Linked DNA regions of Homo sapiens: region 2 is linked to region 1. Evidence: promoter capture Hi-C in human tissues and cell types (Jung and others, 2019). All regions are on one chromosome and are shown on one strand. Each heading gives the region's core, a stretch centred on a gene start or on the middle of the fragment in contact. The rest is flanking DNA. Distances are from core to core; before and after follow the strand shown.

Evidence for each region. The method cuts DNA at HindIII sites, captures the fragments that hold promoters and counts their contacts. A contact is called where the count stands out against the background at its distance.
Region 2: a contact is called between a fragment that was not itself captured here and the fragment with the promoter of ERCC2 in region 1, in 1 of the 25 tissues and cell types used here (spleen).

What each region holds. Positions count from the first base shown.
Region 1 is chr19:45,369,323-45,376,102 of GRCh38, forward strand. ERCC2 (ERCC excision repair 2, TFIIH core complex helicase subunit) reads right to left here and starts at 1,251. Exons shown (of 23, transcript NM_000400.4): 1 at 1,214-1,251; 2 at 811-910. The coding sequence starts at 1,218. RefSeq lists enhancers at 5-846, 1,465-1,544, 6,019-6,780. The HindIII fragment of the contact is 25,658 bases long and covers 1-6,780 here.
Region 2 is chr19:44,905,100-44,911,879 of GRCh38, forward strand. It overlaps APOE (apolipoprotein E), which reads left to right and starts at 697. Exons shown (of 4, transcript NM_000041.4): 1 at 697-742; 2 at 1,503-1,568; 3 at 2,661-2,853; 4 at 3,434-4,294. The coding sequence starts at 1,526. The coding sequence ends at 4,151. RefSeq lists enhancers at 14-816, 1,619-2,421. The HindIII fragment of the contact is 5,856 bases long and covers 699-6,554 here.

The DNA of each region.
Region 1 (6,780 bases), core at 1-2,500:
GTCTTAGGCAAGTACCTTCACCTCCCCAGACCTCAGTATCCCTATCTCTAAAATGAGCCTAAAGCCAGGCGTGGTGGCTCACACCTGTAATCCCAGCACTTTGGGAGGCTGAGGCAGGTGAACCACCTGAGGTCAGAAGTTCAAGACCAGCTGGGCCAACAAGGTGAAACCCCGTCTCTACTAAAAATACAAAAAATTAGCCAGATGTGGTGGCGCGCACCTGTAATTCAATCTCAAAAATAAATAAATAAAATAAAATGGGCCTAATAATAAAACCTTCCTCATAACATGACTATGAGGATTGTGAGAAATTGCAGGTTAAATATTTGGCACAGTAGCTGATATATAGTGAACTTTTCTCCCTTCTTTTTTAAGAGACAAGTGTCACTATTGCCCAGGCTGGAATGCAGTGGCACAATCATGGCTCACTGCAGCCTCCAACTCCTGGCCTCAAGCGATCCTCCTGCCTCAGCCTCCCGAGTAGGTGGGATTACAGGCGCCCGCCACCACACCTGGCTAATTTTTGTATTTTTAGTACAGACGGGGTTTCACCGTGTTGGCCAGGCTGGTCTCCAACTCCTGACCTCAAGTGATCCGCCCGCCTCGTCCTCCCAAAGCTCTGGGATTACAGGCGCGAGCCACCGCGCCCAGCCTATTCACCATTATTGTTTTAGATAACGGAAGATTATGGGGTCCTGGATTCCCAGGGACCTCGGACTTCTAAAATCCAGACGTCCTGCAATCTGTCTTAGGCCCAGGCGTGGCAGCCCCACCGGTCGAGTGGGCGGGTCGGGCCCACCGGCCACCCACCTTGGCGTCCAGCGTGCGTTTGAGCTCCCGCATGTAGGAGAACTGCTCGGGGTAGATGTAGTCGTACGGGAAGTAGACCAGGAGCCCGTCCACGTTGAGCCTGGCGGCAGGGGCTGCTGGGTCAGTTCCCGTCCCCTCAGCCCCTCTCCCGCCTCCACAGTGCCCGGTCGTCGAGCCCAGAGAAGGGTGACGGGCCCGGCGCCCCCGGTAACCCTCAGGTCCTCAGGAGCCTCGGGGCCCCCTCAGTGTCTCCTCGCTATCACTGCTGCTCCCTGCGGCTGCCCCCGTCCCACCCCTTCACCCTCCCCTCGCCCCCTTGGGGACCCAGGCGCGCCCACCGATGACCCCATCTTCAAGACCCCCCGCGCCCGCTAGCGAGCGCGACCCCCAGCCCCCTTCTCACTTCATGGCGCCGGCCGGACTGTGCAGCGGGGTCGACCCGCCTCCCTCATGAATATTCAGCGAGAGGCCGGGTCGTGGACATCCTCGAGGGCTCGCTCCACCTATATTACGAGACCATTGGCTAACCTGCCCGTCAATCCGCTAGGGCAGAGCCAATCGGGATACTGCGCGTGCGCACGGAAAAGCGAGGGCGGCTGACTCTCGGGTGAGGCGGTGCGGGAGGCGTCACTGAGGATCGTCGAGGGCCAATCAAAAAGAAAACATGGAAGGGAAAGAGCCGAGAGACTCGATCTCATTCACTAGAATTTGGTCCTCCTGCGCCTGCCAAGATTGTCTGAGTATTGATCGAACCCAGGAGTTCGAGATCAGCTTGAGCAAGATAGCGAGAACCCCCGCCCCTCCACCTCGTCTCAAAAAAAAAAAAAAATCGTCTCAGTAGCGAATAGTCTAACGGAGAATGACAGGGAAATTGGTGATCCTTTCTGGGCCCAAGAGTTAGAAATGGCTTTGCAGGCCGGGCGCGGTGGCTCAAGCCTGTAATCCCAGCACTTTGGGAGGCTGAGGCAGGTGGATCACCTGAGGTCGGGAGTTCAAGACCAGCCTGACCAACATGGAGAAAACCTGTCTCTACTAAAGATACAAAATTAGCCGGGCGTGCTGGCAAATGCTTGTAATCCCAGCTACTCGGGAGGCTGAAGCAGGAGAATTGCTTGAACCTGGGAGGCAGAGGTTGCAGTGAGCAGAGATGGCGCCGTCGCACTCTAGCCTGGGCAACAAAAGCGAAACTCCATTTCAAATATTAATAATAATAACTAATAAATAAAACATAAATGCTAGCTTTTGTTTGTTTCTTCAACAAATAGCTATGTGGCATCTACCATGTGTCTGATCCTGTGCTGGCCCCTGGGAACAGAAAGGTGACCATGACAGCCTCAGCACCTGCCCTCAAAGAACAGATTTTTTTCCTTGAGACAGGGTCTTTCTCTGTCGCCAAGGCTGGAGTGCAGTGGCACAGTCACAGCTCACTGCAGCCTCCACCTCTTGGGCTCAAGCGATCCTCCCACCTCAGCTTCCAGAGTAGCTGGGACCACAGGTGTGCACCACCAAGCCCAGCTAAGTTTTATTTTTTAAATTTTTTTAGAGACGAGGTCTCACCACGTTGCCCAGGCTGGTTAAACTCGCAGGTTCAAGTGATCCTCTCCCCTCAGCCTTTCAAATTGTTGGGATTACAGGGGTGAGGCACCAGGCCTGGCCTCAAAGAACAGATATTAAATATACAAATGAATATATGATTACAGCCTGGAGTGGTGGCTCGTGCCTGTGGTTCCAACACTTTGGAAGGCCAAGGCGAGTACATTGCTTGAGCTCAGGAGCTAGAGACCAGCCTGGGCAACATGGTGAAAACCCGTCTCTACAAAAAATGCAAAAATTAGCTGGGCGTGGTGGCGTGCACCTGTAGTCCCAGATACTCAGGAGGCTGAGGTGGGAGAATCACCTGGGCCTGGGAGGCAGAGGTTGCAATGGGCAGTGATTGTGCCACTGCACTCCAGCCTGGGCAACAGGAGTGAAAACCTATCTCAAATGTGTGTGTGTGTGTGTGTGTGTGTGTGTGTGCGCACGTGTATAATCACAAGTACAAAAGTGCTGTGAAGGAAAACTTCAAGTCACCATAAAGATTGATTATGGGCTGGGTGCAGTGGCTCATGCCTGTAATCCCAGCACTTTGGGAGGCCAAGGCAGATGGATCACGAGGTCAGGAGTTCAAGACCAGCCTGGTCAACATGGTGAAACCCTATCTCTACTAAAAAAAAAAAAAAAAAAAAAAAAGCCAGGCATAGTGGCATGCATCTGTAATCCCATCTACTCGGGAGGCTAAAGCAGGAGAATTGCTTGAACCCAGGAGGCAGAAGTGAGCCAAGATCACGCCACTGCACTCCAGCCTGCGTGACAGAGCAAGACTCCGTCCCAGAAAAAGAAAAAAAAAAAAGACTTATTATGACAGGATGTCTACTGTCAACTGTGGGGTGTGAGTGTTGGCCAAGTGATCAGAGAAGGCTTCGTGGAAGAAGCGAGGTTTGAGTAGAGCCAGAAAATAATTAGAAGAGATCAACCAGCAAGAGGGGATGGATGAGAGAAGTGAGAAAGGTGTTCCAGGGAGAGAGACCATCATACACAAAAGCTCTAGGCCAGAAGAAAGCTGAGGCCTGTGAGTGCTGAAAGGAAGCCTGTGGGGGTGGAGCTCTGAGTTGAGCACAGGGAGCAGAGAAAGGGCAGCTGGAGGGGAAGGCAGGGGCAGATCGAAATCTCTTTTTTAAATTAATTAATTCTTAATTTATTTATTTTTGAGACAAGGTCTCACTCTTTCGCCCAGACTGGAGTACAGTGGCACAATCTCAGCGCACCGCAACCTCTGCCACCCAGGCTCAAGCAATTCTCTGGCCTCAGCCTCCCTAGTAGCTGGGATTACAGGTGCGCACCACTACTGCCCAGCTAATTTTTATACTTTTAGTAGAAACGGGGTTTCACTATGTTGGCCAGGCTGGCCTCAAACTCCTGACCTCAAAAGATCCACCCACTTCAGCCTCCCAAAGTGCTGGGATTACAGGTGTGAGCCACCCTTCCCGGCTGTATTTTTGGAGACAGAGTCTTGCTCTGTCCCAGCCTGGAGTATGGTGGTGTGAATTTGGCTCATTGCCACCTTGACCTCCAGGGCTCAAGTGATCCTCCCACCTCAGCCTCCTGAGTAGCTGGGACTGCGGGTACACGACACCACGCCTGGTTAATTTTTTTTAATTTTTTGTAGAGACGAGGGTATCTCACTATGTTGTCCAGGCTGGTTGAACTCCTGAGCTCAAGCAATTCTCCCACCTCAGCCTCCCAAAGTGGTGGGATTACAGACGTGAGCCACTGTGCCCGGCTTAATTTATTTACATAAATTTTTTTATGTTTACTTTTCTATCTCCTACAGGAAGAAAATATATTTTGTTATTGACAGGGTCTCGCTATGTTGCCCAGGCTGGTATTGGGCTCAAGCCATCCTGTTCCCTCAGCCTCCCAAAGTACTGGGATTACAAGCGTGAGCCTCTGCATCCAGCCCAGATCCAAAATCTTTACTGTCACCTACAGAGTCCTCTGTAACTAGCTTACTGCTCATCATCCCCATACCAACCCACCTTACTGCTCTGATCTCCTCCTCTCTCTCCCCCAGCTCATTTTGTTTCAGCTATGCTGGTCTCCTTGCTGTCTCTAAAACATAACAAGCACATCCCATCTCAGGGCCTTTGCACCAGCTATTTTGTCTGCCTGGAATGCTGTTTCCCCTGATAGCCATGTGGCTGACACACTCACCTCCCTCAGCTCTTTGCTCAATTGTCAACTTCTCGGCCCGGCATGGTGGCTCACACCTGTAATCCTACCACTTTGGGAGGCTGAGGTGGGCAGATCACCTGAGATCAGGAGTTCGAGACCAGCCTGGCCAAGATGGTGAAATCCCGTCTCTACTAAAAATACAAAAATTGGCAAAGCATGGTAGCACATACCAGTAATCCTAGCTACCCGGGAGGCTGAGGCAGGAGAATTGCTGGAACCCGGGAGGCAGAGGCTGCAGTGAGCCAAGATCATGCCACTGTACTCCAGCCTGGGTGACAAAGCAAGACTCTGTCTCAAAAAAAAAAAAGTCTCCTTCTCAATGAGGGCTTCCTGACCACCAAATTAAATCTACCTCCTAGACACACACACACACGCACGCACGCACGCACACACACACACGCACGCACGCACACACACACACACACACACACTATATCCCCTTTCCCTGCTTTATTGTTCTTGAGAGCTCATTTAACCATGTGACATGCTGAATATTTTACTTATTTATTTTGTTTAGAAAGCTCCTGGCTGGGCGCGGGGGCTCACGCCTGTAATCCCAGCACTTTGGGAGGCTGGAACAGGTGGATCATGTGAGGTCAGGAGTTCCAGACCAGCCTGACCAACACGGTGAAACCTCATCTCTATTAAAAATGCAAAAATTAGCTGGGTGTGGTGTCGCATGCCTGTAATCCCAACTACTCAGAAGGCTGAAGCAGGAGAATCGCTTGAACCTGGGAGGCAGAGGTTAACGCTGAGCCGAGATCGCGCCATTGCACTCCAGCCTGGGCAACAAGAGTGAAACTCTGTCTCGAAAAAAACAAAAGTCAGCTCCATGGCAGGAGTGATGGCTCACGCCTATAATCCCAGCACTTTGTGAGGCCGAGGCGGGCGGATCACTTGAGGTCAGGAGTTGGAGACCAGCCTGGCCAACATGGTGAAACCTCATCTCTACTAAAAATACAAAAATTAGCCGGGCGTGGTGACACATGTCTGTAGTCCCAGCTACTTGGGAGGCTGAGGCTGGAGAATGGCTTGAACCTGGGAGGTAGAGGTTGCAGTAAGCCAAGATCGCGCCATTGCTCTCCATCCTGGGCAACAGACTCCGTCTCAGAAAGGAAGAAAGAAGGAAAGAGAGAAAGAGAGAAAGAGACAGAGAGAGAGAGAGAAAGGGAGAAAGAGAGAAAGGATGGAAGGACCCTGACAAGCACTGTTGCATAAAAGTTTCTTTTCTCTCTCTTTTTTTTTTTTTTTTTTTTTTGAGACAGGGTCTCACTTCTGTTGCTCCAGCTGAAGTGCAGTGGTGAGAACATGGCTCAGTGCAGCCTCAACTTCCCAGGCTTAAGTGATCCTGCCACCTCAGCCTCCTGAGTAGCTGGGACTGTAGGTGTGCACCACCGTGCCTAGCTAATTTTTTGTATTTTTAGTAGAGACATGGTTCCGCCACGTTGCCCAGGCTGGTCTTGAACTCCTGGGCTTAAGGGATCTGCCCGCCATGGCCTCCCAAAGTGCTGGGATTACCAGCGTGAGCCACTGTACCCAGCCTGAGTATAGGTTTCTGATAAATTTTAGGATCATATTGTTTGGACTGGGTAAGAATTTCCAGAACTCTAATGAAGAAACTGACTGGTTTATATTTTATTTTATTTTATTTTATTATTTTTGAGATGGATTTTCACTCTTGTTGCCCAAGCTGGATTGCAGTGGCACGATCTTGGCTCACCACAACCTCCGCCTCCCGGTTTCAAGTGATTCTCCTGCCTCAGCCTCCCCAGGAGCTGGGATTACAGGCACCCACCACCATGCTCGGCTATTTTTTTTTTTATTTTTTTATTTTTAGTAGAGACGGGGTTTCACCATGTTGGCCAGGCTGGTCTCGAACTCCTGACCTCAGGTGATCCACCTGCCTTGGCCTCCCAAAGCGCTGGGATTACAGGCATGAGCCACTGTGCAAGGCCTAGGCTGGTTTATAAAATTGCTAAACCAAGCAGAACATGAATTAAATACCAAGGAAATACTCTCCTAGATTGTCATGTTACATCAGCCAATACTAAAATTGTCAAGATACACAATTTGAATGAACTCCATGGTCCAAGTCGAATTATCTATGATATTACCCATCTAATAAACAGCACTATGTCCCTTAATGGGAGAAAAAGTTGGAGAATTTAAGAGAATATCAATCCAATGTTGGTTGGGTGC
Region 2 (6,780 bases), core at 2,377-4,876, 460 kb before region 1:
TTTTTTTGAGACAGTCTCCCTCTTGCTGAGGCTGGAGTGCAGTGGCGAGATCTCGGCTCACTGTAACCTCCGCCTCCCGGGTTCAAGCGATTCTCCTGCCTCAGCCTCCCAAGTAGCTAGGATTACAGGCGCCCGCCACCACGCCTGGCTAACTTTTGTATTTTTAGTAGAGATGGGGTTTCACCATGTTGGCCAGGCTGGTCTCAAACTCCTGACCTTAAGTGATTCGCCCACTGTGGCCTCCCAAAGTGCTGGGATTACAGGCGTGAGCTACCGCCCCCAGCCCCTCCCATCCCACTTCTGTCCAGCCCCCTAGCCCTACTTTCTTTCTGGGATCCAGGAGTCCAGATCCCCAGCCCCCTCTCCAGATTACATTCATCCAGGCACAGGAAAGGACAGGGTCAGGAAAGGAGGACTCTGGGCGGCAGCCTCCACATTCCCCTTCCACGCTTGGCCCCCAGAATGGAGGAGGGTGTCTGTATTACTGGGCGAGGTGTCCTCCCTTCCTGGGGACTGTGGGGGGTGGTCAAAAGACCTCTATGCCCCACCTCCTTCCTCCCTCTGCCCTGCTGTGCCTGGGGCAGGGGGAGAACAGCCCACCTCGTGACTGGGGGCTGGCCCAGCCCGCCCTATCCCTGGGGGAGGGGGCGGGACAGGGGGAGCCCTATAATTGGACAAGTCTGGGATCCTTGAGTCCTACTCAGCCCCAGCGGAGGTGAAGGACGTCCTTCCCCAGGAGCCGGTGAGAAGCGCAGTCGGGGGCACGGGGATGAGCTCAGGGGCCTCTAGAAAGAGCTGGGACCCTGGGAACCCCTGGCCTCCAGGTAGTCTCAGGAGAGCTACTCGGGGTCGGGCTTGGGGAGAGGAGGAGCGGGGGTGAGGCAAGCAGCAGGGGACTGGACCTGGGAAGGGCTGGGCAGCAGAGACGACCCGACCCGCTAGAAGGTGGGGTGGGGAGAGCAGCTGGACTGGGATGTAAGCCATAGCAGGACTCCACGAGTTGTCACTATCATTTATCGAGCACCTACTGGGTGTCCCCAGTGTCCTCAGATCTCCATAACTGGGGAGCCAGGGGCAGCGACACGGTAGCTAGCCGTCGATTGGAGAACTTTAAAATGAGGACTGAATTAGCTCATAAATGGAACACGGCGCTTAACTGTGAGGTTGGAGCTTAGAATGTGAAGGGAGAATGAGGAATGCGAGACTGGGACTGAGATGGAACCGGCGGTGGGGAGGGGGTGGGGGGATGGAATTTGAACCCCGGGAGAGGAAGATGGAATTTTCTATGGAGGCCGACCTGGGGATGGGGAGATAAGAGAAGACCAGGAGGGAGTTAAATAGGGAATGGGTTGGGGGCGGCTTGGTAAATGTGCTGGGATTAGGCTGTTGCAGATAATGCAACAAGGCTTGGAAGGCTAACCTGGGGTGAGGCCGGGTTGGGGCCGGGCTGGGGGTGGGAGGAGTCCTCACTGGCGGTTGATTGACAGTTTCTCCTTCCCCAGACTGGCCAATCACAGGCAGGAAGATGAAGGTTCTGTGGGCTGCGTTGCTGGTCACATTCCTGGCAGGTATGGGGGCGGGGCTTGCTCGGTTCCCCCCGCTCCTCCCCCTCTCATCCTCACCTCAACCTCCTGGCCCCATTCAGGCAGACCCTGGGCCCCCTCTTCTGAGGCTTCTGTGCTGCTTCCTGGCTCTGAACAGCGATTTGACGCTCTCTGGGCCTCGGTTTCCCCCATCCTTGAGATAGGAGTTAGAAGTTGTTTTGTTGTTGTTGTTTGTTGTTGTTGTTTTGTTTTTTTGAGATGAAGTCTCGCTCTGTCGCCCAGGCTGGAGTGCAGTGGCGGGATCTCGGCTCACTGCAAGCTCCGCCTCCCAGGTCCACGCCATTCTCCTGCCTCAGCCTCCCAAGTAGCTGGGACTACAGGCACATGCCACCACACCCGACTAACTTTTTTGTATTTTCAGTAGAGACGGGGTTTCACCATGTTGGCCAGGCTGGTCTGGAACTCCTGACCTCAGGTGATCTGCCCGTTTCGATCTCCCAAAGTGCTGGGATTACAGGCGTGAGCCACCGCACCTGGCTGGGAGTTAGAGGTTTCTAATGCATTGCAGGCAGATAGTGAATACCAGACACGGGGCAGCTGTGATCTTTATTCTCCATCACCCCCACACAGCCCTGCCTGGGGCACACAAGGACACTCAATACATGCTTTTCCGCTGGGCGCGGTGGCTCACCCCTGTAATCCCAGCACTTTGGGAGGCCAAGGTGGGAGGATCACTTGAGCCCAGGAGTTCAACACCAGCCTGGGCAACATAGTGAGACCCTGTCTCTACTAAAAATACAAAAATTAGCCAGGCATGGTGCCACACACCTGTGCTCTCAGCTACTCAGGAGGCTGAGGCAGGAGGATCGCTTGAGCCCAGAAGGTCAAGGTTGCAGTGAACCATGTTCAGGCCGCTGCACTCCAGCCTGGGTGACAGAGCAAGACCCTGTTTATAAATACATAATGCTTTCCAAGTGATTAAACCGACTCCCCCCTCACCCTGCCCACCATGGCTCCAAAGAAGCATTTGTGGAGCACCTTCTGTGTGCCCCTAGGTACTAGATGCCTGGACGGGGTCAGAAGGACCCTGACCCACCTTGAACTTGTTCCACACAGGATGCCAGGCCAAGGTGGAGCAAGCGGTGGAGACAGAGCCGGAGCCCGAGCTGCGCCAGCAGACCGAGTGGCAGAGCGGCCAGCGCTGGGAACTGGCACTGGGTCGCTTTTGGGATTACCTGCGCTGGGTGCAGACACTGTCTGAGCAGGTGCAGGAGGAGCTGCTCAGCTCCCAGGTCACCCAGGAACTGAGGTGAGTGTCCCCATCCTGGCCCTTGACCCTCCTGGTGGGCGGCTATACCTCCCCAGGTCCAGGTTTCATTCTGCCCCTGTCGCTAAGTCTTGGGGGGCCTGGGTCTCTGCTGGTTCTAGCTTCCTCTTCCCATTTCTGACTCCTGGCTTTAGCTCTCTGGAATTCTCTCTCTCAGCTTTGTCTCTCTCTCTTCCCTTCTGACTCAGTCTCTCACACTCGTCCTGGCTCTGTCTCTGTCCTTCCCTAGCTCTTTTATATAGAGACAGAGAGATGGGGTCTCACTGTGTTGCCCAGGCTGGTCTTGAACTTCTGGGCTCAAGCGATCCTCCCGCCTCGGCCTCCCAAAGTGCTGGGATTAGAGGCATGAGCCACCTTGCCCGGCCTCCTAGCTCCTTCTTCGTCTCTGCCTCTGCCCTCTGCATCTGCTCTCTGCATCTGTCTCTGTCTCCTTCTCTCGGCCTCTGCCCCGTTCCTTCTCTCCCTCTTGGGTCTCTCTGGCTCATCCCCATCTCGCCCGCCCCATCCCAGCCCTTCTCCCCGCCTCCCACTGTGCGACACCCTCCCGCCCTCTCGGCCGCAGGGCGCTGATGGACGAGACCATGAAGGAGTTGAAGGCCTACAAATCGGAACTGGAGGAACAACTGACCCCGGTGGCGGAGGAGACGCGGGCACGGCTGTCCAAGGAGCTGCAGGCGGCGCAGGCCCGGCTGGGCGCGGACATGGAGGACGTGTGCGGCCGCCTGGTGCAGTACCGCGGCGAGGTGCAGGCCATGCTCGGCCAGAGCACCGAGGAGCTGCGGGTGCGCCTCGCCTCCCACCTGCGCAAGCTGCGTAAGCGGCTCCTCCGCGATGCCGATGACCTGCAGAAGCGCCTGGCAGTGTACCAGGCCGGGGCCCGCGAGGGCGCCGAGCGCGGCCTCAGCGCCATCCGCGAGCGCCTGGGGCCCCTGGTGGAACAGGGCCGCGTGCGGGCCGCCACTGTGGGCTCCCTGGCCGGCCAGCCGCTACAGGAGCGGGCCCAGGCCTGGGGCGAGCGGCTGCGCGCGCGGATGGAGGAGATGGGCAGCCGGACCCGCGACCGCCTGGACGAGGTGAAGGAGCAGGTGGCGGAGGTGCGCGCCAAGCTGGAGGAGCAGGCCCAGCAGATACGCCTGCAGGCCGAGGCCTTCCAGGCCCGCCTCAAGAGCTGGTTCGAGCCCCTGGTGGAAGACATGCAGCGCCAGTGGGCCGGGCTGGTGGAGAAGGTGCAGGCTGCCGTGGGCACCAGCGCCGCCCCTGTGCCCAGCGACAATCACTGAACGCCGAAGCCTGCAGCCATGCGACCCCACGCCACCCCGTGCCTCCTGCCTCCGCGCAGCCTGCAGCGGGAGACCCTGTCCCCGCCCCAGCCGTCCTCCTGGGGTGGACCCTAGTTTAATAAAGATTCACCAAGTTTCACGCATCTGCTGGCCTCCCCCTGTGATTTCCTCTAAGCCCCAGCCTCAGTTTCTCTTTCTGCCCACATACTGGCCACACAATTCTCAGCCCCCTCCTCTCCATCTGTGTCTGTGTGTATCTTTCTCTCTGCCCTTTTTTTTTTTTTTAGACGGAGTCTGGCTCTGTCACCCAGGCTAGAGTGCAGTGGCACGATCTTGGCTCACTGCAACCTCTGCCTCTTGGGTTCAAGCGATTCTGCTGCCTCAGTAGCTGGGATTACAGGCTCACACCACCACACCCGGCTAATTTTTGTATTTTTAGTAGAGACGAGCTTTCACCATGTTGGCCAGGCAGGTCTCAAACTCCTGACCAAGTGATCCACCCGCCGGCCTCCCAAAGTGCTGAGATTACAGGCCTGAGCCACCATGCCCGGCCTCTGCCCCTCTTTCTTTTTTAGGGGGCAGGGAAAGGTCTCACCCTGTCACCCGCCATCACAGCTCACTGCAGCCTCCACCTCCTGGACTCAAGTGATAAGTGATCCTCCCGCCTCAGCCTTTCCAGTAGCTGAGACTACAGGCGCATACCACTAGGATTAATTTGGGGGGGGGGGTGGTGTGTGTGGAGATGGGGTCTGGCTTTGTTGGCCAGGCTGATGTGGAATTCCTGGGCTCAAGCGATACTCCCACCTTGGCCTCCTGAGTAGCTGAGACTACTGGCTAGCACCACCACACCCAGCTTTTTATTATTATTTGTAGAGACAAGGTCTCAATATGTTGCCCAGGCTAGTCTCAAACCCCTGGGCTCAAGAGATCCTCCGCCATCGGCCTCCCAAAGTGCTGGGATTCCAGGCATGGGGCTCCGAGCCCGGCCTGCCCAACTTAATAATACTTGTTCCTCAGAGTTGCAACTCCAAATGACCTGAGATTGGTGCCTTTATTCTAAGCTATTTTCATTTTTTTTCTGCTGTCATTATTCTCCCCCTTCTCTCCTCCAGTCTTATCTGATATCTGCCTCCTTCCCACCCACCCTGCACCCCATCCCACCCCTCTGTCTCTCCCTGTTCTCCTCAGGAGACTCTGGCTTCCTGTTTTCCTCCACTTCTATCTTTTATCTCTCCCTCCTACGGTTTCTTTTCTTTCTCCCCGGCCTGCTTGTTTCTCCCCCAACCCCCTTCATCTGGATTTCTTCTTCTGCCATTCAGTTTGGTTTGAGCTCTCTGCTTCTCCGGTTCCCTCTGAGCTAGCTGTCCCTTCACCCACTGTGAACTGGGTTTCCCTGCCCAACCCTCATTCTCTTTCTTTCTTTCTTTTTTTTTTTTTTTTTTTTTTTTTTTTTTTGAGACAGAGTCTTGCTCTGTTGCCCAGCCTGGAGTGCAGTGGTGCAATCTTGGTTCACTGCAACCTCCACTTCCCAGATTCAAGCAATTCTCCTGCCTCAGCCTCCAGAGTAGCTGGGATTACAGGCGTGTCCCACCACACCCGACTAATTTTTGTATTTTTGGTAGAGACAAGGCTTCGGCATTGTTGGCCAGGCAGGTCTCGAACTCCTGACCTCAAGTAATCTGCCTGCCTCACCCTCCCAAAGTGCTGGGATTACAGGCATGAGCCACCTCACCCGGACCATCCCTCATTCTCCATCCTTTCCTCCAGTTGTGATGTCTACCCCTCATGTTTCCCAACAAGCCTACTGGGTGCTGAATCCAGGCTGGGAAGAGAAGGGAGCGGCTCTTCTGTCGGAGTCTGCACCAGGCCCATGCTGAGACGAGAGCTGGCGCTCAGAGAGGGGAAGCTTGGATGGAAGCCCAGGAGCCGCCGGCACTCTCTTCTCCTCCCACCCCCTCAGTTCTCAGAGACGGGGAGGAGGGTTCCCACCAACGGGGGACAGGCTGAGACTTGAGCTTGTATCTCCTGGGCCAGCTGCAACATCTGCTTGTCCCTCTGCCCATCTTGGCTCCTGCACACCCTGAACTTGGTGCTTTCCCTGGCACTGCTCTGATCACCCACGTGGAGGCAGCACCCCTCCCCTGGAGATGACTCACCAGGGCTGAGTGAGGAGGGGAAGGGTCAGTGTGCTCACAGGCAGGGGGCCTGGTCTGCTGGGCCTGCTGCTGATTCACCGTATGTCCAGGAGCTGGAGCAGCACCCTCTCAGAGCCTCAGTTTCCCCAGATGTCAATGAGAGAATCAGCATCAGCCACATCTCCCACCTGAAGAATCGAACCTTGAGTTCTCACCTTTAAGAATTTTTTTTTTTTTTTGAGACAGTGCCTTGCTCAGTCGACCACGCTGGAGTGCAGTAGCACGATCATCAATCACTGCAGCCTCCAACTCAAGCAACCCTCCTGCCTCAACCTCCTGAGTAGCTGGGGCCACAGGCACCCACCACCATGCCTGGCTAATTCTTTCTTTTTTGAGATGGAGTCTCACTCTGTCGCCCAGGCTGGAGTGCAGTGGCACCATCTTGGCTCACCGCAACCTCTGCCCCCCGGGTTCAAGCAATTCTCCTGCCTCAG